Linked DNA regions of Homo sapiens: regions 1, 3, 4, 5, 6 and 7 are each linked to region 2. Evidence: promoter capture Hi-C in 16 types of primary human blood cells and fetal thymus (Javierre and others, 2016). All regions are on one chromosome and are shown on one strand. Each heading gives the region's core, a stretch centred on a gene start or on the middle of the fragment in contact. The rest is flanking DNA. Distances are from core to core; before and after follow the strand shown. Region 1 overlaps CCNT2 (cyclin T2). Region 2 holds the start of UBXN4 (UBX domain protein 4). Region 3 overlaps CCNT2 (cyclin T2). Region 4 overlaps MAP3K19 (mitogen-activated protein kinase kinase kinase 19). Region 5 overlaps MAP3K19 (mitogen-activated protein kinase kinase kinase 19). Region 6 overlaps MAP3K19 (mitogen-activated protein kinase kinase kinase 19). Region 7 overlaps ACMSD (aminocarboxymuconate semialdehyde decarboxylase).

What was found. The method cuts DNA at HindIII sites, captures the fragments that hold promoters and counts their contacts. A CHiCAGO score of 5 or more calls a contact.
Region 1: a fragment that was not itself captured here is called in contact with the fragment with the promoter of UBXN4 in region 2 in 11 of 17 cell types (non-activated CD4 T cells, naive CD8 T cells, activated CD4 T cells and 8 more); the score reaches 10.2 in non-activated CD4 T cells.
Region 3: a fragment that was not itself captured here is called in contact with the fragment with the promoter of UBXN4 in region 2 in 11 of 17 cell types (total B cells, total CD4 T cells, erythroblasts and 8 more); the score reaches 12.3 in total B cells.
Region 4: a fragment that was not itself captured here is called in contact with the fragment with the promoter of UBXN4 in region 2 in 9 of 17 cell types (megakaryocytes, erythroblasts, non-activated CD4 T cells and 6 more); the score reaches 11.3 in megakaryocytes.
Region 5: a fragment that was not itself captured here is called in contact with the fragment with the promoter of UBXN4 in region 2 in 5 of 17 cell types (naive B cells, naive CD4 T cells, M2 macrophages and 2 more); the score reaches 7.2 in naive B cells.
Region 6: a fragment that was not itself captured here is called in contact with the fragment with the promoter of UBXN4 in region 2 in 14 of 17 cell types (total CD4 T cells, M2 macrophages, fetal thymus and 11 more); the score reaches 11.7 in total CD4 T cells.
Region 7: a contact is called between a fragment that was not itself captured here and the fragment with the promoter of UBXN4 in region 2, in 1 of 17 cell types (non-activated CD4 T cells). The highest score is 5.9, in non-activated CD4 T cells.

Annotation. Positions count from the first base shown.
Region 1 is chr2:134,929,355-134,932,344 of GRCh38, forward strand. All of the region lies in intron 2 of CCNT2 (cyclin T2), which reads left to right. Among named protein-coding and RNA genes, the nearest start is that of CCNT2, 12 kb to the left of the region's middle. The HindIII fragment of the contact is 7,188 bases long and covers 1-2,990 here.
Region 2 is chr2:135,740,317-135,743,251 of GRCh38, forward strand. It overlaps UBXN4 (UBX domain protein 4), which reads left to right and starts at 1,539. Exons shown (of 13, transcript NM_014607.4): 1 at 1,539-1,695. The coding sequence starts at 1,614. It overlaps LOC107985946 (a long non-coding RNA gene), which reads right to left and starts at 2,328. Exons shown (of 1, transcript NR_163478.1): 1 at 513-2,328. RefSeq lists enhancers at 1,157-1,286, 1,617-1,676, 2,005-2,780 and a silencer at 2,077-2,126. The HindIII fragment of the contact is 10,462 bases long and covers 1-2,935 here.
Region 3 is chr2:134,947,984-134,951,336 of GRCh38, forward strand. All of the region lies in intron 7 of CCNT2 (cyclin T2), which reads left to right. Among named protein-coding and RNA genes, the nearest start is that of CCNT2, 31 kb to the left of the region's middle. The HindIII fragment of the contact is 2,583 bases long and covers 342-2,924 here.
Region 4 is chr2:134,987,815-134,991,185 of GRCh38, forward strand. MAP3K19 (mitogen-activated protein kinase kinase kinase 19) reads right to left here. Exons shown (of 13, transcript NM_025052.5): 10 at 1-439. Among named protein-coding and RNA genes, the nearest start is that of MAP3K19, 58 kb to the right of the region's middle. The HindIII fragment of the contact is 3,833 bases long and covers 1-3,371 here.
Region 5 is chr2:135,024,447-135,027,382 of GRCh38, forward strand. MAP3K19 (mitogen-activated protein kinase kinase kinase 19) reads right to left here. Exons shown (of 13, transcript NM_025052.5): 4 at 180-295. The coding sequence starts at 201. Among named protein-coding and RNA genes, the nearest start is that of MAP3K19, 22 kb to the right of the region's middle. The HindIII fragment of the contact is 3,280 bases long and covers 1-2,936 here.
Region 6 is chr2:135,005,862-135,008,820 of GRCh38, forward strand. The region is part of intron 5 of MAP3K19 (mitogen-activated protein kinase kinase kinase 19); the gene reads right to left. Among named protein-coding and RNA genes, the nearest start is that of MAP3K19, 40 kb to the right of the region's middle. The HindIII fragment of the contact is 7,045 bases long and covers 1-2,959 here.
Region 7 is chr2:134,896,248-134,899,614 of GRCh38, forward strand. It overlaps ACMSD (aminocarboxymuconate semialdehyde decarboxylase), which reads left to right. Exons shown (of 10, transcript NM_138326.3): 9 at 2,094-2,192. The region is part of intron 1 of CCNT2-AS1 (CCNT2 antisense RNA 1); the gene reads right to left. Among named protein-coding and RNA genes, the nearest start is that of CCNT2-AS1, 21 kb to the right of the region's middle. The HindIII fragment of the contact is 5,396 bases long and covers 1-3,367 here.

The DNA.
Region 1 (2,990 bases), core at 178-2,677, 810 kb before region 2:
AGCACTTTGGGAGACAGAGGTGGGAGGATTGAAACCAGGACTTCAAGACCAGCCTGGGCAACTTGGCGAGACCCTGTCTCTACAAAAATTAATTTAAAAAAAAATTAGCCCGGCATCTTGGTGTGCGCCTGTAGTCCCAGCTACTTGGGAGGCTGAGGCAGGAAAATCGCTTGAGCCCAGGAGGTTGAGGCTGCAGTGAGCCACGTTCACGCCACTGCACTCCAGCCTAGGTGACAGAGCAAGACCCTGTCTCAAAAACAGAGAGAGAGAGAGAGAGAGAGAACTAATAAATAGATGCCTTTTTTTTTTTTTTGAGACGGAATCTTGCTGTGTTACCCAGGCTGGAGTGCAGTGGTGCAATCTCAGCTCGCTCCAGCCTCCACCTCCTGGGTTCAAGTGATTCTCCTGCCTCACCCTCCCTGAGTAGCTGGGATTACAGGCATGCACCACCATGCCTGGCTAATTTTTGTATTTTTAGTAATGGCAGGGTTTTACCATGTTGGCCAGCCTGGTCTCGAACTCCTGACTTCAAGTGATCCGCCTGGCTTGGCCTCCCAAAGTGCTGGGATTACAGGCATGAGCCACCCCGCCTGGCCTAAATAGATGTCTTTAACGTTAGCTCCTTAAAAAAAAAAGAGAGAGAGAGAGATACAATTCATATACCGTAAAATCCACCTATTTAGAATGCATAATTCAGTGGCTCACACGAAGTTGTACAACTATCACCACAATCTCAGTTTAGAATATTTTTATCACCCCAAAAAGAAACCTGGTTGCTGTAAGCAGCAGTTCACCAGTCCCACTCCCCTTCCCAACCCTGGGCAACCCCTAAATTATTTTCTGTCTCCATAGATTTGCCCATTCTGGACATTTCATATAAATGGAATCATGTATATATGGTCTTTCACGAAGCATGTTTTCAAGGTCCGTTCATGGTGTAGAATGTGTTAGTACTTCATTCCTTTTTACTGCAGAGTAATTAATATTCTATTCGTCATGTGGCTGTACCTCTTTTTATTTATCCATTTATCAGCTGATGGACATTTGGGTTGATTACACTTAACAGCCATTCCACTGGCTATTATGAATAATGCTGCTATGAACATTCATGTACAAGTTTTTATGTGAACATATGTTTTCATTTCTTACGGGTGAGAGTTACATGAGAGTGGAATTGCTGGATTGGTATGGTAACTTTAGACTCCAATAATCTTTTTGGATAGCTTTTAAGAAACATTTTGAGGAACTGCCGAACTGTTTTCCAAAGTAGCCATACCATTTTGTGTTCTCAAAATGTGTGAGGGTTGCAATATCATCACTTTTCTCGTCTTTTTTTTATCGTAGCCATCCTAACAGTGTGAAATGATATCCCCTATTCTATGCATTGTCATTTTTATGTTCTTGGTGGTATTTGCAGCACAAGCATCCAGTTTATTAATATTTTTCTTCTGTAACTTGTGTTCTTGATAGCATATCTAAGAAACCTTTACCTAAACTAGAGTCATAAAGATTTATTTGTCTTTTCTTCCAAGAGTTTTATAGATTTAGCTCTTACATTTAGGTCTGTGATTCCTTTAGAGTTAGTTTTTATGTATGATGTAAATAAGGATTTGAATTTTTTTTTTTTTTGAGACATCTCACTCTGTCCCTCAGGCTGGAGTGCAGTGGCGCCATCTGGGCTCACTGCGTGCTCCACCTCCCAAGTTCACGCCATTCTCCTGTCTCAGCCTCCCAAGTAGCTGGGACTACAGGTGCCTGCCGCCACGCCCGGCTGATTTTTTGTATTTTTAGTAGAGACGGGGTTTCACCGTGTTAGCCAGGATGGTCTCGATCTCCTGACCTCGTGATTTGCCTGCCTTGGCCTCCCAAAGTGCTAGGATTACAGGCATAAGCCACCATGCCCGGATCTTTTTTTTTTTTTTTTTTTTTTTTTGGTATTTGAATATACAGTTGTCCCAGCACCATTTGCTGAAAAGAGTTCTTTCTCCCACTGAATTTTCTTGGGATTGTTAGTGAAAATCAATGGATCATAAATGTAAGCATTTATTTCTGGACTCTGGATTCTATTCCATCCCCTTATGCAGACCACATAGTCTTGATTACTGTAGCTTTGTAATAACTTTTGAATTTAGGAAATATGAGTCTTCCAACTTTGTGCTTTTTCAAGATTGTTTTGGCTATTCTTAGTCCCTTGTATTTCCATGTGAATTTTAGGATCAAGCTCATCAGTTTCTACAAAAGAAGCTGGGATTTTTATAGGGATGACATTGAATCTGTAGATAAATTTGGGGAGTACTGCCATCTTCGTGATAATCTGTTCGAAGGAAAGTGGCCTTTTGTAACATTTATGTAGTATATTTGAATTCCTGTGCAATGTTAATGTTCTTGTTTCACAATACAAGTCATTTTTTGTCCTTTTGGTTTTTTAAGAGAAGGGATCTCACTCTGTTGCTCAGGCTAGCCTCAAACCCATGGACTCAAGCAGTCCTCCCACCTCAGCCTCCCAGGTAGCTGGGACTTAGAGTGGTATTTTTTAGTATTTATTGTAGGCTGTTAGGAGCTGTGTCTATATAAGAGAGAGTAGATAGAGCCTTAACTATGAAATACTAAGTATACTTTATAAGTTGGTTTTTTTCATTTTTTCTTTTTTGTTTTTTTTCAGACAGTCTCACTCTGTCACCCAGCCTGGAGTGCAGTGGTGCTCGCTGCAACCTCCGCCTCCCAGGTTCAAGCGATTCCCCTGCCTCAGCCTCCCAAGTGGTTAGGATTACAGGTGTGTGCCACCATACCTGGCTAATTTTTTTGTATTTTAGTAGAGACGGGGTTTCACCATGTGTTAATCTTGAACTCCTGACCTGTTGGTCTCAAACTCCTGACCTCAGGTGATCCGCCCGTCTTGGCATCCCGAAGTGCTGGGATTACAGGCATGAGCCACCACGCTCGGCTGATATTTTTTCTTTTTTAGAAACATTCATAATGCTCAGGTACTC
Region 2 (2,935 bases), core at 289-2,788:
GTGACATTTATCATCACTCATAATTACTTATTCAATGTCTGTCTTCCTGACTAGACTGTACAGTCACAAAGACAGGGCCTTCTTCTGACTGCCTCACCTCCTTATCAGTGCCAGGCACAATGCCTAGCTCATAAAAGATGAGTGATAAACACTTGACAAATGAATATAAAACTATGAAGGATTCTTATTTAATTCTAAAATTAGAGATAATTAAAGACATAGCTCTATTGGAATAATTTCTAGATTGATCAAATTTCCAGAAGTCCATTAAAGTTGATGTTAAAGGTCAATTCTAATTTTTCTGTAGGATTGTTGTCCTATAGAAGCAACTGTCCCTAATCAGCATTATGTCTCAGTTTATAATAACACTATATACGAGAGGCCTGATTGGGAAAAAAAGTACAAAAATCGGAGTGCAAATAATTAGCTATTTTTAGGGAAAATATCTGTAGGAAAGGTGGTATATTCAGATGTATCACTTCCTTTATCTTGCAAAGATTGTCAGATAGATGTACTGCTGGAGGATAAATTTAATTGATGTAGAATTTAACATAATAGTATATGCAACTTTAAATAAACCATGCAAGCCTTTAGCTAATAGTTATTACAGACCATGTGATTTCATGAAAGTATTAAATATGGATCAGTTTTCATTTAATGGCAGCCAATCACAAAGCGCCACATCTTGATTATAGGACATTCTCCCAGAAAATTGGAAAATAAATCACTATCTAGTCTCTTTTGTATTACCATGGAAAGTAGCTGGAAAAGAAATAATCTATTCTCTGCTTTGTGTTACTTTAAAAAGTAGCTGTGGCAATAGCCTAACGCGTTTTGAAGTTTTGAAATGATCTCTATCCAGTGTCTAGGAAATTGCTGAAGGCCTGCGTTCTACCAATTCCTCCGCTTAGGCACATGGACTACAGGTTATTAAAGAAGGTGACTTGCGGTTTTTATCCCGTTTTTCTGCAAGGTTGGGCTACGTTCAGAAGAAATCAAAGCCTCGGAGTTAATCCCGACAAAGCCCATTTAGTTCCATGCGAGGACTATTTCCTCCACACTGAGAGTCTCAACGAGGCCGAGAATAGCATATGCCAGTTGGAGTGACACTTATTTCTCCCTCTCCCCTTTATAGAATGTGTAGTGGCCCTCACTACTGCCCCCTTTAGCTGTGCCTCAGAACCCACAGTTACATGCTCCACAATATGGAGGCGAATAAGCCTAAGTGGACTACAATTCCCATCATGCCTCACTGCAGGCGCCGCCGACGTGTCTTAGCGGTTAGTCATCCCTCTTACCGCTTTCCTCCACTTCCTGGACTGCGCGACCGGAGGCCTAGCGGGCGCGCGCCCGCACCATCGACTCGCCAACGAGAGAAGGTCCTGGGGCACGGACACCGACGGGTTGCGACTGTGACGTGAGGTGTTCTCGCGCGCGCTAGCGCGCGTCTCCGGGTGCCGCTGACGGGCGTGCGCGCTTGTGCGGAGCCGGAGGTGGGGGCCGAACCAGCCAAGGTTGCGGGGGCCGCAGAGCCGGACGAAGACGGAGGGCGGAGCCGGCTTCGGGACTGCGGAGACTACACACCGAGCGAGCGCCTGGGCCCGAAGGGAGCGATGCTGTGGTTCCAGGGCGCCATTCCGGCCGCCATCGCGACGGCCAAAAGGAGCGGCGCGGTCTTCGTGGTGTTCGTGGCAGGTGAAGGAGGCAGGGGTTCGAGAGGCGGCCGGGACACCCCTCCGGCCTACCTTCATCCTCTTGTATACCTCAGCCGCCGGCCCGCCCTCCCCGAGACGCGGGCTCCTGTCGGCTCGCACAATTGCCACTACTACCCCGCGCCCCAGGGACGGCTGCGACTCCGCCGCCAGATCCCCCAGAGGGGCCATGCAGACCCTCAGCGCCCTGCTCCTTCAGGCCCCGGGCGCCCCCAGCCTTTCCTCAGTGTCTGCGAGGCCCGGGCTGCCGGCCCGTGGCTGTTCAGCGCCTCCCCGGTTCGTTTGAGATACAGTGGGCCTGGCCCCACCGCTGCGTCTCCCGGCAGCCGGGCCGGAGGCACCGTCTGGCCCTGGTCTCCAAAGCGCCCCGAGGCCCGCCGAAATCTCCCCGCTCGGGGCGACGGACGCGGCCAGCAGGCCCCAGCCGCCCAGCCCCGCTCGTCGCCCCGAGCCTCTCCCCTGCGCAGCCAGACCCCCGCGACCCTCTCCCTGACGTCCCTCTCTGTCACCAAGGACCCTCTTTGTGCTGCTTGAACGCCCGTTTCGTTACTGCTGTTTAGATGGAGGTAGGAACGGGCCATTAGGCAAGCAGTTGGGTTGTAATTAGTTGTGGACTGTCGGGAAGAAAGCTGTGTCATCGATAAGCAACAAAGAGAAACCACCTGATGTTCACGGTTACTGGTGTTAGTACGTTCCTGAAACGTAAACTTTTGAGCTGAATAGAGGTTTAATTTTTCTTTATGGCAGTCTTGGTAGGGGATCTAGTGTGAAATAATGTAAGTTTAAAAAAAATCCATTAGTTTCAAAGAAAATAGACGTTCAGTCCTTGGTTTCTTCCCTTTGTTGTCTTCTTAGGCTAAAATCTACACGACTTTGAGAACGTTTATTAACTCATATATTCTCTGTTGCTCTAGGCTATTTTGCTCCATATTCTCCTGTTTTATTACTGAAATCTTGTAGATTTACAGTGAACTCCCTGCCTCTACGGTTCTGCTCATACTCATTACATGGACCAAATCAATGTTTGTGGCTGTTGTTAATTTGAGGTGTATTTCTTCAACTATTTGTGTTTAATAACGGTTTATTCATAATTAACTCGTCTTTTAATAGCTCTATAACTTTATGCACTGCAGTGAAGAACGAATTACTGAAATGTGAATGTCATTTAGCATTAAATTTGGAATTTATAATTGTTTTGTTACGCCAAGTTTTTAGCTCAATGC
Region 3 (3,353 bases), core at 383-2,882, 790 kb before region 2:
ATCAGATGAACAGAATGAAAACAACAATTCATCAGCCTAAAGAAAAAAAAATAGAGTCTGGAAGCTGTGCTCATACCTGTAATCCCAGCACTGTAGGAGGCTGAGGCAGGAGGATCACTTGAGCCCAGGAGTTCAAGACCAGGCTGGGCAACATAGACCCTGTCTCTACAAAAAAAAAGTTAAAAATTGACTGGGTGTGGTGGTGCGTGCCTATAGTCTCAGCTACTTGGGAGGCTGAGGCGGGATGATCACTTGAGCACGGGAAGTCAGGGCTGCGGTAAGCCTTGAAGGCACTGCTCTACTCCAGCCTGGGTATATATTAACTACCACCAAATATCTAAAGCTTTTTCAGGACTTAAAAAATAAATAAGTAAGGTTTAGAATTCCATAAGCTGACAAGATAAGAATAGTGATTTAAAGTATACTAATTCTGTTGAGTTTTAAATGTGTATACTGAAAGTTGAGTGTTAACTGTGAAGCAGTAAACGAAAGGGATTTTCAGGGGATTGTGTTTCTTGCTCTGTATTACCATTGTTGCCTTACATTGTTAAATATGAATACACAAGGAGAAATTGTGGGTGTGTGTTCTGTTAATTAGGAACGTGGAATTTTGGGGATGTTTTGATGAGAAATTCCTCTGGTTGAGAAGTAAAAGAAGCCGGCCAGAAATGGGAGATTCTTGGGATTAGGGCATTTTAACCACGTACTGTAGATTTCAGCAAGAAAATAGATAACACTTTTTTTTTTTTTTGAGTCAGTCTCACTCTGTCGCCAAGGCTGGAGTGCAGTGGTGCAATCTTGGCTCACCGCAACCTCCACCTCCCGAGTTCAAGCAATTCTCCTGCCTCAGCCTCCCAAGTCGCTGGGACTGCAGGCACGAGCCACCACACCCAACTAGTTTTTGTGTTTTTAGTAGAGATGGGGTTTCACCATGTTGGCCAGGCTGGTCTCAAACTCCTCACCTCAGATGATCTGCCCACCTTGTCCTCCCAAAGTGCTGGGATTACAGGCTTGAGCCACTGTGCCTGGCCTTGTTTTGTGTTGTTTTGTTTTTTGAGACAGATACTCACTCTGCCCCCCAAGCTGGAGCGCAGTGGTGCAACCTGGGCTCACTGCAACCTCTGCCTCCCAGGTTCAAGCGATTCTCCTGCCTCAGCCTCCTGAGGAGCTGGGACCATAGGCGCATGCCACCACGCCCAGCTAAGTTTTGTATTTTTAGTAGAGATGGGGTTTTGCAGTCCACCTGTCTTAGCCTCCCAAAGGGCTGGGATTACAGGTTTGAGCCTCTGTGCCCCACCTGATGTTTCTTTAAGATAGGGGTCTGCAAAGAGTAACACTATTTTAGAGTTTGTGAACTATAAGGTCTCTGTTGCAACTATACAACTATACCATTGCAGCCAGAAAGCAGCCATAGGCAATTTGTAACTGATTGGGTGTGACTGTGTTCCAGTAAAACTTTTGTTGACAAAAATAGGTGGCCAGCCATATTTGGCCAATTATCCATAGTTTGCCTGTTCTTATTTGTGAAATATGCTTCTTTGTTTCATCCTTTTCTATTTTGTTTTCCACCTGGAAAAAATTATCCCAGAATATATATCTCATGCTGTATTATTGCTGCATGATTATAATGTTTTTCTTAAATTGTTAGAGGCTTTTTCAGAGTTTATCCAGAGGAAAGGAAGTCTTCAATGAGTTGAAATGACATCTAAAACTCAGTGAGGGCTTATCTGTTCTATAGCTTGAAAAATCAGGTTATCTAGGTCATTGTTTTAGTTTAATAGTCACTAGATTAAGATTAGGTAGGCAAAATTTTTTTTTCGGGGGGGGGGTGGGGGACAGAGTCTCAGTCGCCCAGGCTATAGAGTGCGGTGGCGCAATCTCGGCTCGCTGCACCCTCCGCCTCCCGGGTTCAAGCAGTTCTCTGCCTCAGCCTCCTGAGTAGCTGGGATTACAGGTGCCTGCCACCACGCCTGGCTAATTTTTGTATTTTTAGTAGAGATAGGGTTTTCACCATGTTGGCCAGGCTGGTCTTGAACTCCTGACCTCATGATCCACCCACCTTGGCCTCAAAGTGTTAGGATTACAGGCGTGAACCACCACACCCAGCCAGTAGGCATAATCGTAATAAAAATAGTTTATATACCTGGTGCTGAAGTAAAAAGATCACAGAAAAGTAATCTGCCTTTTATCCTGTCTTTAGGTCAGAGGTTAGGTTGTGGTTTATGTGGGGTTTTTTGACACAGGAGGAGCTACCTCATTTCCATTCTGAAAAGTAAAGTTTGTTAATTTGGAGAGCAATTGAATAGGAATCTTGGAGAACTGATATGTTAAGACTTTCACCATGTTTTGCAGCAGCTTTTTTTTCTGTGTCAGTCACAAAAAGGCAATTCAAAATTAAAGACATGAAGGTGTGGCCGGGTGCAGTCACTCACATATCTTGAGCACAGGAGTTTGAGCCCAGCCTGAGCAACATGGCAAAACCACGTTTCTACTAAAAATACACACAAACCGGGCATGGTGGCGCACTCCTATAGACCCAACTACTGTGGAGGCTAAGGTGGGAGGATCACCTGAGCCTGAGACGTCAAGGTTGTAGTGAGCTGTGATAATGCTACTGCTCTCCAGCCTGGGCAACAGAGGAAACCCTGTCTGGGGGGAAAAAAAAAGACATGAAGATTTATCTGAATTGTAGAGTGAAGTGATACTACTATTCTTATTACTTACTGAAATAATTCACTTAATGATTGTGTTCCAGAAAAGAACATTGGCTTAGACAGTAGCTTTGAGAGAGAAGGGCCTCTATTTTAGGCACATACTGTGATTTTTGTGCATATAGCTAATTAATTATGTTAATGGATTATTTAACAGATTCTTTTGTTGTTCTGCTATAAAATTTAATACAGTAGGATACTTAAGAAAAACAAAGCTTACATTTTGTGTACGAGATTTTGGACCAGAACTTGAAGTGTATTTAATGTTTTACAACCAAGTTGTTAACAGAAATTGAGTCAAAACAGTTTTGTTAATGTTGGACCCAAAAGTAGAAAAATAGTCTTTTTTTTTTTCTTTTTTTTTCAAATGAGGAAGTAAAGGTCTGGGCATTAGGGTTTTTTTCATCCAAACTGGATGAAAAAGCTCATGAGACTTTAGCAGGGACTAGTCATGACATTGTCAAGGAAATTACATCTTGAAAGATTAATGGTTAAATTATAGCTTGTCTGAAGTGTCGATCTTAACATTGGCTTAGAATAGTTTACAAAAAAGCTTGCTATTACAAAATGAACCTGTAGTCTCTATTAATAGAGGTTCCCCCAGTATTGAGGTGGAATTGGCATTATTAATATTATATAATA
Region 4 (3,371 bases), core at 397-2,896, 750 kb before region 2:
CATGGCAGTCAATATCCTCTTCCCTAACTGCAGGAATATTGCCTTCCTTCAAATTCTCAAAAGACACCAAAGACTGCCCTTTTTCAAAGTGAGTGATTTCAATTTTGTTACATTCTTCTATTTCCTTGGATTTCCAGTTTTCCTCCTTCTCCAGGCATTGCCTGTGATGGTTAGTCTTAGGAAAAGAGCACATGTTTCTTGACCAAATGAAGCCATCAGAAGACCTGAGAGTCGGATCCATCAACGACTTAACTAGGGCTCCCGGAGGCTCGTTTGATGGGCTGAGCTCATCAGATTGACGAACAGACACTGAGAGCTTAGGCACAAAAGATGTGAGACTTGGAATGTTTCTTTCTTTTTCTTTTGGAAACTTGTGATTTTGGGGGATAGTAAGGACACCAGATCGCGTGGGCAAGAGTGACAGTGGTGGCAGAAGGAACTAAAAGGAAGACAGAAAAAGCTGTGAATGCAGAAACATATATAAATATCACGCTAACTCGTTTAAAGTAGTCTAAAGAGATTATAATATCCTCTTAAGGAAGGCTTTTAAAGTTCAAAGCTATCCTGGAAATCACAATTCTTTTTTTTCTTCTTGAGACAAGATCTCGCTCTGTCACCCAGGCTGGGGTGCAGTGGCATAATCACAGCTCATTGCAGCCTTGACTTCCTGGGCTCAAGCGATCCTCCCACCTCAGCCTCCCAAGTAGCTGGGACTGCAGGCATGTGCCACTATGCTCGGCTAATGTTTAAATTTTAGTAGAGACAAGGTCTCTCTATGTTGCCCAGGCTGGTCTCAAACTCCTGGCCTCAAGCAATCCTCCCACTTCTGCCTCCCAAAATGCTGGAATTACAGGCATGAGCCACTATGCCTGGAAAGATCACAATTTTTAAAATTAAAACCTCATTCCCAATATTTTTTTTAGAACCAATTTAAAACAACACGTTTTAAAACCAGGATTATTATAGATGTAAATATTCATGGTTATATATTTTTAAATGAAGGCCCTATAATGTAAATGGTAAAAATTTAAGATAAGAAGCATTTTATTTCTCTTCTTTTTTCTTTTTACTTTCCATAGAATTGATTTAAGATTTTTGAAATCCCACTGAAAACAGTTTAAAATTGCTGTTAAAATACCTCAAAAATTACCAGTTATTGACTAACTCAGAATTCATATCCGAAACACAACTACTCACCATCGTTTTGCTGAATTAGTTTGTGAATGAAATGTACAAAATTTCATTTTTGTGGATGACAGGCAAATGGATGGCTTTCCTTTCTCCTTTGCCCTCTAGTTTCAAACTAAGCTAGTTTTTCCTTTCTCCTTTGCCCTCCTCTAGTTTCAAACTAAGCTAGTTTTTATTATCATCCTGTAGAGGTCAGTGTAACCCAATGTATAATATTAAACTTTGCGGGCAGTAAGCTATAAACTCCTTAACTTTATGCTTCTTTTCATTGTGGTCTTTTCCTGTGTATACAGATTCAATACCTATTTATATCACAATATTTATAGGCATGGGTCATGGGTAGTAATTGAGAAATGTATGTTTAATTTTCATTCTATTGCCACCTGTGTGTAAGAAGGAAGGAAATGGAACCTGACTCTAGAAACTTAGGCATTAAAAGTAGATGAGATGTAGTGTAGACCCCAGTTTTACTGTCTAGATGATTTTCCTCATTTCTCAAAAATGACTTAGGACATAAAGGCAGATTCATCCAGTGCTTAACCATCTGCCTAGTAACAGCCATTACAATTTTTTAGGTCAATAAACTCCTTTTACAATGCTAAGCAGTACCTATGCATAAGTATTTCTCAAAGGCTCATAGGAAAAGAAGGGTCAGGTAGTTGAGAAACTAAGAATTGCAAATATCTTTCCAAAAACTTATAAATTAGACAGCTAGGAAAATCTTTCCACCACTGGGGGAAAGAAAAGAATTGCCTAATTTCTAAATAGGTTGAAAAAAGACAAATTAAAATATGTCTGGCCAGGTGTGGTGGCTCACACCTGTAATCCCAGCACTTTGGGAGGCCGAGGCAATCGGATCACTCAAGGTCAGGAGTTCAAGACCCACCTGACCAACATGGTGAAACCCCATCTCTACTAAAAATACAAAAATTAGCTGGGTGTGGTGGCAGGTGCCTGTAATCCCAGCTACTCAGGAGGCTGAGGCAGGAGAAACGCTTGAACCCAGGAGGTGGTGGTTGCAGTGAGCCGAGATTGTGCCAACTGCACTCCAGCCTGGGCAACAGAGTGAGACTCTGTCTCAAAAAAAAAAAAATGTCTAAGGGAGCTACTCAGCTCATTATGTAAAGAACAGAAACACTCCAGAAAAGCACTGCACATGGCAAGGCATAATTTTCCCAGGAACGATTTGCTACTCTAGGAACTATATGTGAGTTGTTGTTTTTCCAAGAAATACAGTTGACCCTTGAACAACAGGGCTTCAAACTACGCAAGTCCACCTATATGTGGATTTTCTTCCTCCTCTGCTACCTCTGTGACAGCACGACCAAGCCCTCCTGTTCCTCCTCGTCCTCAGCCTATTCAACATGAAGACAGTGAGGATGAAGACCTTTATGGTGATCCACTTCCACTTAATGAAGAGTAAATATATTTTCTCTTCCTTATGATTTTCTTTTTTTGTTTTTTTTTTTTGTTTGTTTGTTTGTTTTATTTTTGAGACGGAGTCTTGCTCTGTTGCCAGGCTGGAGTCCGGTGGCATGATGTCGGGTCACTGCAACCTCCACCTTCCAGGTTCAAGCAATTCTCCTGCCTCAGCCTCCCGAGTAGCTGGGACTACAGGCACCCGCCACCATGCCCAGCTAATGTTTTGTATTTTAGTAGAGACGGAGTTTCACCATGTTGGCCAGGATGGTTTCGATCTCTTATCCTCGTGAACCACCCGCCTTGGCCTCCCAAAGTGCTGGGATTAAGGCGTGAGCCACCACACCTGGCCCCTTATGATTTTCTTAATAACATTTTATTTTCTTGGCTTTATTGTAAGAATACAGCATATAATACATATAACACAAAATGTGTGTGTTAATCAACTGTTTATGTTATCTATAAGGCTCTGGTCAACAGTAGGCTACTGCAGCCATGTGCGGTGGCTAACATCTGTAACCCTAGCACTTTGGGAGGCTAAGGGGGAGTATTGCTTGAGGCCAGGAGTTCAAGACCAACGTGGCCAACATAGCGAGACCCTGTCTCTAAACAAAACAAAACAGAACACCCAGCACTTTGGGAGGCCGAGGCGGGCGGATCACGAGGTCAGGAGATCGAGACCATCCTGGCTAACATGGAGAAACCCCGTCTCTACTAAAAATACAAAAAATTAGCCGGGCGTGGTGGCGGGTGCGTGTAGTCCC
Region 5 (2,936 bases), core at 112-2,611, 720 kb before region 2:
TAGACTTCTTTGCATCCCCCAGAGCACCTAGTCGTGGGCCTTGTACAGAGTCACTGCTCCATAAATAGCCGTGGACTTGATTTCTTTAAATGGATCCATCAAACAGATGTAGAAAAAGAAAGAGATCTAACAGGAATTTTTGGGTTGGGAAATTATGCATGTGGAGTGAAAGTATTTACCTGGTTTTGGCATAGAACTCATTAAAATGTCCAAAAGCTGCTGTTTCTTTGAACTCTCTATTTGTGACACATAATGTATTGCTGATTTTCCACTAAAATCACAAAGTTTAGGATCTCTAGGAAGAACAGAATCAACATTAAAGTTTATTTAGTTGAATCTGTTGAAAAAAGAAAACTAATATGAGAGGGAAACATTTACATCAAATAAATAAAAAGTAATCTTATGTAGTTTGGGGATAATAATAATGATTTCAAAATGTGTGAATAGAGGATGACAATTTTACAAGATTTTAAATAAAAGGAATTTGCTGTGTATCTTTATTCCCATCCCCATTCTAAAAACATTCTGAGGTTTGCAGAGAATTCCCAACTTTGGACAAAAATTTTTATAATTCTTTAAGGGTACATAAAATCAAGTAAAGATAAAAACATCTTTTGTTGTTTTTTTTTATATTTTTAAATTTTTTTCAATGAGTCATAAGGATTAAAACATTTTGATAAATGATTGTCTTATCATTCCAAATAGCTCACTTGATTTTTTTCTTTTCAATAATTAAGCTAACTGCTGACTTTTTTGATATTTCTTTTTTCTAATGCTAACAGCTAGCTCTTTTATGATTCAAAATGGTGGAATGGCATAGAATCTTCTCTTTAAAATTAAGCTGATACTTTTATTTCATGGTCTCTTGGATGAGTGGAGCAATCTTGTCATAAAAACCAAAGTGTGCCTCTCCACATGGCCTTTTCTTTTCTTTTTTTTTTTTTTTTTTTTTTTTTTGAGGCGGAGTCTTGCTCTGTCACCCAGGCTGGAGTGCAGTGGCGCGATCTCGGCTCACTGCAAGCTCTGCCTCCCGGGTTCACGCCATTCTCCTGCCTCAGCCTCCAGAGTAGCTGGGACTACAGGGGCCCGCCACCATGCCCGGCTAATTTTTTTGTATTTTTAGTAGAGACGGGGTTTCACCGTGTTAGCCAGGATGGTCTCGAACTCCTGACCTCGTGATCTGCCTGCCTCGGCCTCCCAAAGTGCTGGGATTACAGGCGTGAGCCACCGCGCCCAGCCCCCACATGGCCTTTTCATTCCTCTTTACCTGGCTTTGTGGTTGGTAAGCCCAACTGGCTGATCTTAGGACCATTTACAACAGAACAAGTCTCTTCTTATCCTCTCTATTATGACAGCACAAGTCTCTTCTTATCCTATGTTGTACTGAACCCTTGCATTAGATATCAGCTCAGAGAAATCCAAAGTTAAATGATGAGAATCCCATTAATAGATTACAGTGAGGGAAACAATGATGAAACTTGCTTTACTTATCCTATTCTAGGACAAGGAGCAAGTTGATCATGGTCTCTGTCCTAAAACATTTGAATTTGAATCTCTTCGTTGCTATGGGACAGGGTAATGTGTCATGAGCCACAGTAATATTCTCTTATGGACTTTTCTTCATCAAAGATTGTAATTCAAAAGAAATAGCATAGGACTGAGAATTGGGGTTGCCACTACCTTGATATATGGCTTTAAGCAAGCCACTTATCATATTTGCAGAGAATTCCCAACTTTGGACAAAAATTTTTATAATTATTTAAGGGTGCATAAAAACAAGTAAAGATAAACTCATTGGGGCCTCTCCTCATCTGCCTAGATTAGGGTGTCTCCAAGTGGCATACCTTGATTTCCAGTATTCTGGACCCCAATCCAGACCTACTGAACATCTCTGGGATGACGTCCAGGAATCTCCACTTTTATCAATTGGCCAAACTATTTCTCAACACTAGGCTGAAGTAGCTTCAAAATTCCCTTTTCATTCCATTATACTAACTGATCCTTTTACAATATCTTGTATTCTTGACTATAATTTTGTTCTTGAAGCTCCCTCCTCCTTTTTTTTTCAAAACAAAATTCATATGAAGTACTGAGAAAGAGCTCAGGCCATCTGTTCTTATTTGATGACAAGATAACTAAGTAACAGCTTTAGGAAACTGCAATTGTAACATAAGAGATTGCTTATTAACCCTCTTATTTAAAAAAAAAGTGCATTGTTTATCTCCTCCCTCCTAAAAGAGCATTTGACATATAGTAATTTTAAGATAACTTGAAAACACTATTATAAATTGCTTTTCAGACATTGACAGTGTTTTCTGAAATAATTAGTAATATCTTGGGGGTAGAGAGCTGGATACTCAAGAATTATTTGACATTCCCAGTAACTACCAGAACAGTAATCATTTCAAGAAATGAAACAAAGAGCCAGATATCATAAGAATAATAGGTAGCAAATTTTAGAAACTGCACATCACTTTGCAATTGTGAAGTCACTTTTATGATGATGCATGTGCATTTGGCATATATAGTAGAAAACAGCCTGTAATCTCCACAGCTTGGGAGGCCAAGATGGGAGAGCAGCTTGAGGGCAGGGGTTTGAGACCAGCATGGGCAATATAGTGGGACTCCATCTCCACAAAAAATTAAAAATTAGCCGGGCATAGTGGTATGTGCCTGTAGTTCCAGCTACTCGAGAGGCTGAGGCAGGAGGATCCATGGAGCCCAGGAGTTTGAGGTCACAGTGAGCTATGATTGCATCACTGCACTCCAGCCTAGGCAACAGAGCAAGATCCTGTATAAAAAAGAGGAAAGGAAGAAAGAAAGAGAGAGAGAGAGAAAGGAAGGAAGGAAGGAAGGAGAGGGAAAAGAAAGAGACAGAGAAATAAAGAAAGAAAGAAAGAAAGAGAGAAAGAAAGAAAGAGAGAGAGAAAGAAAGA
Region 6 (2,959 bases), core at 450-2,949, 730 kb before region 2:
AATCCTTTGGCCACAGTCACAGTGAACAACCCCAAAGGAGCATGATCTTTTCCATAATGCCTCCCTGGGGCATCATTTACATATGGCAAGAATGGAAATCCCTGCCCCTGTGGAAGCTACAGATATAACCCTAGACTGAAAGGAGGCAGCAAAGCTGATTAAAGTCTTCCCTATGACGGCGTTCTGATCTAAATCATGGTGCATAACCTCTTAAACTTCCTTTTCACTCTCTAGAAAATAATCATTATAGTTGAAAACCAACTTGATTTACAAAAAGTACTCCAAACATTTTAAAGAAGAAATGTTTTCTTAGTAGAATTCATTGTTTTTGATAGTTTCCTTCATTCGAAGTTATAGCTGATGATTTTGTGCCTTTAAATTTCTAGAACCATGATAGATCCAAGTAATAGTTAAAACATCCCATCACAACCCGAATGTTACAACTATCTGTCTGGTTTCTATGATCTAGGTGGACTACCTATTTAAGGGGACTGATGGACAATAAGTCTTTGCCCTAAGTGCTCAAGCCTGTCATCTGAAATGTCAGAGAAGTGGCGAGTCACAAAAATTCTCTGATAGCTCATTTATTAATTCCCAAGAGAGCTAGGAAATTTCTTGCTTTTCTCTCCTTGTTCATTTTAATTGTCGTAGCAAATAATAAAAGTTGGCCAGGCATGGTGGTTCACTCCTGTAATCCCAGCACTTTGGGAGGCTGAGGCGGGTGGATCACTTGAGCTCAGGAGTTCGAGACCAGCCTGGGCAACATGGCAAAACCCTGTCTCTACTGAAAATACAAAAATTAGCTGGACGTGATGGCACACCCCTGTTGTCCCAGCTACTTGGCAGGCTGAGGCAGGAGGATGGCTTGAACCCGGGAGGTCAAGGCTATGGTGAGCTAGGGTCACGCCACTGCACTCCAGCCTGGGTGACAGAGTGAGACCCTGTCAAAAGAAAGAAAAGAAAAGAGAGAGAGAAAGAGAGAGAGAGAAAAAAGAAAAGAAGAAGAAAAGAAAAAGGAAATAAAAGTAAAACCTGGCCAGGCATGGTGAGTCACACCTATAATCCTAGCACTTTGGGAGGCCGAGATGGGTGGATTGCTTGAGGCCAGCCTGGACAACATGGTGAAGCCCCATCTCTACAAAAAATACAAAAATTAGCCAGGCATGGTGGCACGTGCCTGTAGTCCCAACTACTCAGGAGGCTGAGGTGCGAGGATCATTTGAGCCATAGGAGGTTGAGGCTGCAGTGAGCCATGATTGCACCACTGCACTCCAGCCTGGGCAACTGAGTGAGACCCTGTCTCAAAAAAAAAAACCAGAAGTAAAACCCTCCATTTATACAGTCATTAAAAATATTTTAGGTATTCAATCATAATAACTTAGTTGTCATACCTTACTTTTATTCAGCAGTTTATACTTAAACATTGTTTTTTAATTTTTATGGGTACATAGGTATATATATTTATGGGATACAGGAGATATTTTGATATAGGCATGCAATGCATAATAATGACATCAGGGTAAATGGAGTATTCATCACATCAAGCATTTATCCTTTGTGTTACAAATGATTCAATTATACTTTTAGTTATTTTTAAACGTACAATTAAATTATTACTATAGTCACCCTGTTGTGCTATCAGTACTAGTTCTTACTCTTTCTTTTCCTTTTTTTTTCTTTTTGTTCTCTCATTGGGTTGATTATTCATTCTTTCTAGCTATTTTTTTTTGTACCCATTAACCATCCCCCTTCCTCCCTACTCCCCACTACCCTTATTAATACTTTCTAAAGCGTTTTCTATCTCCTGGCAAAAGTTGGGTGCCCTACCTCAGACTATCCTGGTTGTCAATGGCGGATGGGTTCACTCAGCTCCTAGGCTGTTGTCAATTTCACTGCTTAACCTTCTCTGTATTTCAAAAATTCTACCATTATCTGGCAAATTCCTCCTCCTTCCTATCAAATCACAAAGGGGGATTTATTCTTCCTAGAACATACAAAAATACAAAAAAGTATTTTTTAAAGCAAAATTTAAAAAATCACCTATAACCTGACAACCAAAGAGCAAACACTGTTAACACAGGAATCATATTTTCTTTGTGTTTCTCTTAAGTATTTAAAAATATAGTTGCATCACATAATTTTTGTATCTGGCTTTTTCACTTAAGTGTAAATTCATAAGCAATTTACTAAGTAAGTGTCATTTTAATTTTAATGGAATTTAAAATTTCTTTCCTTCAACAAATATCAGAGGGTCATAACAGTACTTCTTTTTTTTTTTTGAGATGGAGTCTTGCTCTGTCGCCCAGGCTGGAGTGCAGTGGTGCGACCTCAGCTCACTGCAACCTCCACCTCCCGGGTTCAAGAGATTCTCCTGTCTCAACCTCTCGAGTAGCTGAGACTACAGGCACCCGCCACCATGCCCGCCTTATTTTTGTATTTTTAGTAGAGACGAGGTTTCACCATGCTGGCCAGGCTGGTCTCAAACTTCTGACCTCGTGATCTGCCTGCCTCGGCCTCCCAAAGTGCTGGGATTACAGGCGTGAGCCACCACGCTCAGCCAATAGTACTTCTTTAATAAGCCCCGTTAGTCTTACAATGTAACTCCCATGATGCTTAGTAGGTAATTTAAAATTCTTCACTCTTACACATAGTATTATTAAATATTTGCAACTAATACCCCAATTTTGCATTATTTCTTTAGAGTAGATCCCTAGATATGGAATTATTGACCCAAATACTATGAAAAAGTTGTTTTTTTGTACACACATTGCCTTAAAAGTAAAGTTTATCCCTATTTATAATCCACCAGCAGTGCATGAATGTGCTATATCATATCTTCTCCCTTATCATCATTCCTTTTCATTTAATTAATTAATTAATTATTATTGTTTTCCCTTCTTTTCACAGGTGTTTATATGATTATTGTTATTATTTTGAGGCAGTGTCTCACTCTGGCACA
Region 7 (3,367 bases), core at 84-2,583, 840 kb before region 2:
GTTTCTTTGCTATGGCACCAAAAGTACAAGCATCCAAAGAAAATAATAGATGAAGAAGACTTCATCAAAATTTAAAACTTTTGTGCTTCAAAAGACAATACCAAGGAAGTAAAAAAGACAACTCACCGAATGGAGAAAATATTTGCAAATCATGTATCTATAAGGCTCTAGTATTCAGAACACACAAAGATCTCTTATAGCTCAATGATAAAAAGATAACAAAATGGACATGAATGTACACAAGGGATCTTAGTAGACATTTCTCCAAGGAAGAGATACAAATAGCCAATAAGCACATGAAAAGATGTTCAACATAATTACTTATTAGAGAAATACAAATAAAAACTACAGTGAGATACCACCTCATACCTACTGAGATGGCCATAATCAAAAAGATGAATAACCAATGTTGGCGAGGATCTGGAGAAACTGGAACCCTCATACATGCTGGTGGGAATGTAGAAAGCTGCAGCCATGGTAGAAAATAGTTTCTCAAAATGTTAAACATGGACTCACCATATGCGCCAGCACTTCCACTCTTAGGTACGTATTGATTCAAGCAATAACATGGGTGAACCTTGAAAACATTAAACTAAATGAAAGAAGGCTACATATTATGTGATTCCATTTATGTGAAATGTACCAACCAGGCAATTCTGGAGACACAGAGGGTAAACTAGTGTTTTCCAAGGGCTGGAGGGAGAAAAGAATGGGGAGTCACTGCTAATGGGTACAGGGTTTATTTTGGAGGTGACAAAAATCTGTGGTTATATAAGATGAAAAAAATTTTTTTAAACATTCTATAATTAGTGGAAATGATTACACAAACTTATGAATATACTAAAACCCATTGAATTATACACTTTAAAGGGGGTGAATTTTATGGTATGTGAATTATATCTCAAAAAAAAAAGAAAAGGGGATATTCTGACCCCCAAGCCCTAGTCCTACTCCATGGAGGAAATTAATGTTATTTGTTTCTTAGATACCATTCCTGAAATAGACTGTATATATACAAACATATATTTGTGGGTCTATAGGTACCTTATTGAAAACAGAAATCAAAGCATAGCAGACACATTGTTCTAGACTCTTTATTTCTCTTTATAACTTCAAGATCATTCTTCTTTACACTGTAACTTGGAGATTATTCCATTTCAGCATATGTAAGTATTCTTTATTCTTTTCTATTTGGAGATATTCTGTAATTTAATTGGCCAGTCTTTTGCTGTTCCAAATAATGTTGCAATTTATTTCTTTGTATATCTTTCCAGCACAAGTGTATGAGTGGAATACATTTTGAGAAGTAAAATTTCTGGTTTGAATTTTTATTTTATTTTACTTTGATAAATTGCCATTATTGACATAATATCTTTCTCACTTGATTATGAGTTCCTTCAGAAAAGGAACCATGTCTGTTTTGTTGACAAGGGTACATCTAAATTCTAGCACATTGTCTGACACAGTGCTTAATATATTTGTAGATTGACAAGCCTACGTATTTTATTGTATAAAGTGTCAAATGGAAATTCAAAGCTATACTGTTCAAAAACTTATGATCCAGTTTATAGGAATTGTTTATAGGAACTGATCCAGAGATAGGGGATTTTCTTTTTCTATTTTTTGTTTTTGTTTTTGTTTTTTTTTTTTTACTTTTTATCGAGTTATTTGTTTTTTATGTTTCCTTTCCTACTCTGTTAATAGTATGTTTTGAAAAACTGTGGAATCAATTGCAATGTATCATTCTAAGAAAGACAGAATCCCTTAATTTCATCTGAATATATATATTTTAGTAAATAAATATCAATTTCTTATATTTCAGTATTCTATATTTCAGTTATTTAAAAAGAGAGAGAATGGGGTTGATTTGCAACAAAGAGACCTAATAGTGACACCTGCTGGAAAAAAAAAGTCAGAATAAAATTTGAACCATTAAATCTTTTTAAAATTTTAGACAAGTTTTATGTTTCTATTAATCAGGAAAAAATGTGTTATTTTTATGACAGGAATGTTTGTAATAAGTAAACAATTGTTTACAGGAGGCTCTTTCATGTTTTACAAAACAACAGAGAAATATATATTTTGTTTTTTAGGATAAAGTCATTTTGGGAACCGATTACCCCTTTCCACTAGGTGAGCTGGAACCTGGGAAACTAATAGAGTCCATGGAAGAATTTGATGAAGAAACAAAGGTATAATGTCTTTTACTTCACGGCTTTCTTACTGACTTTTCCTGCTCTAATTGGGTTTGGTTTCAGAGCACTTTGATATATAAAAACAAAGAACAGAGGAACCATTACACTGAATTCCCTAAAACTATTACTCTATCTCCATAAATAGCTAAACTATTAAAGGACAAAAAAAATGACAAAGCTGAAAGTCAGCCTAGTACAACTAAATTCATAAACCCAAGAAAGAAAGTTGTATAGAAGGATATGACAATAAAATATGCCTGCATGTTAGATAGATCATAGGAAAAATGTCTAAATTTTTTCTATATTACTTCTGTTACAAATCTACCAATCTCAAAAGTTGTAATAACTCTAGTTATTTAGATGATGAAACTAAAGTCTTGATTAAAAGGATCCAAGGAATCAGATCCTTTAAGTAACTAGACTTTATTTTTTTTCCCGGCGTTTGACTTTTAAGGCAGGTAAATGATACTAATATGTGCTATAATGCTACCATTACCTAGTCTACCCCTTAGACTCCTAAACCAAGATGAGTTTAAAATGAGATGCAGTGTCTTCAGTTTCCCTCTCCTTTGCCACTCCTTCCACACCCCCATCCTCCAAAAAAATAAGTTCTTCCTAAGACCTTCACTGCCCATCACTCCCAGGAGTCAGGGATGGCCAAAAATAACAATATGAGAATATATAAACTCTTAATAAATCTTACAAAACTTTTAGTTGTAATCCTTTTGCATAATTCTTGGCTTTCTTCTAAACTAGAATCCAAAAGTTACCTTGAACTCTCCCTGCCTTAACTATTAAAGATATTGTTCATCAAATCTTCTCAATAGGCTTAAAGTACATTAACAGATGCCAAGAAAAATTCATTCTTCAGTATACTAGTTACAAGTTATTAACTGGGAAACCTTAGACTATTTTATACACAAAGTGTCCCTTTTGGCACTAAAAGTCTTGAACTGTTAAATATTACCTACTAAATATTGTTAAATATTTACCCACTTCCTTCCTAAAGTAGGAAGCTGTCATAAAGGCATTTTTTATCTTTTTTTTTAAACAACAAAGGTTGAAAATGAAAAACTTTCTATTAACCAAAATTAAACAGAAACCAGATGACCCACATATCCTGATTAAAAACTTAATGGAATAATAGTAATTATTATTACATGCCTTTTATT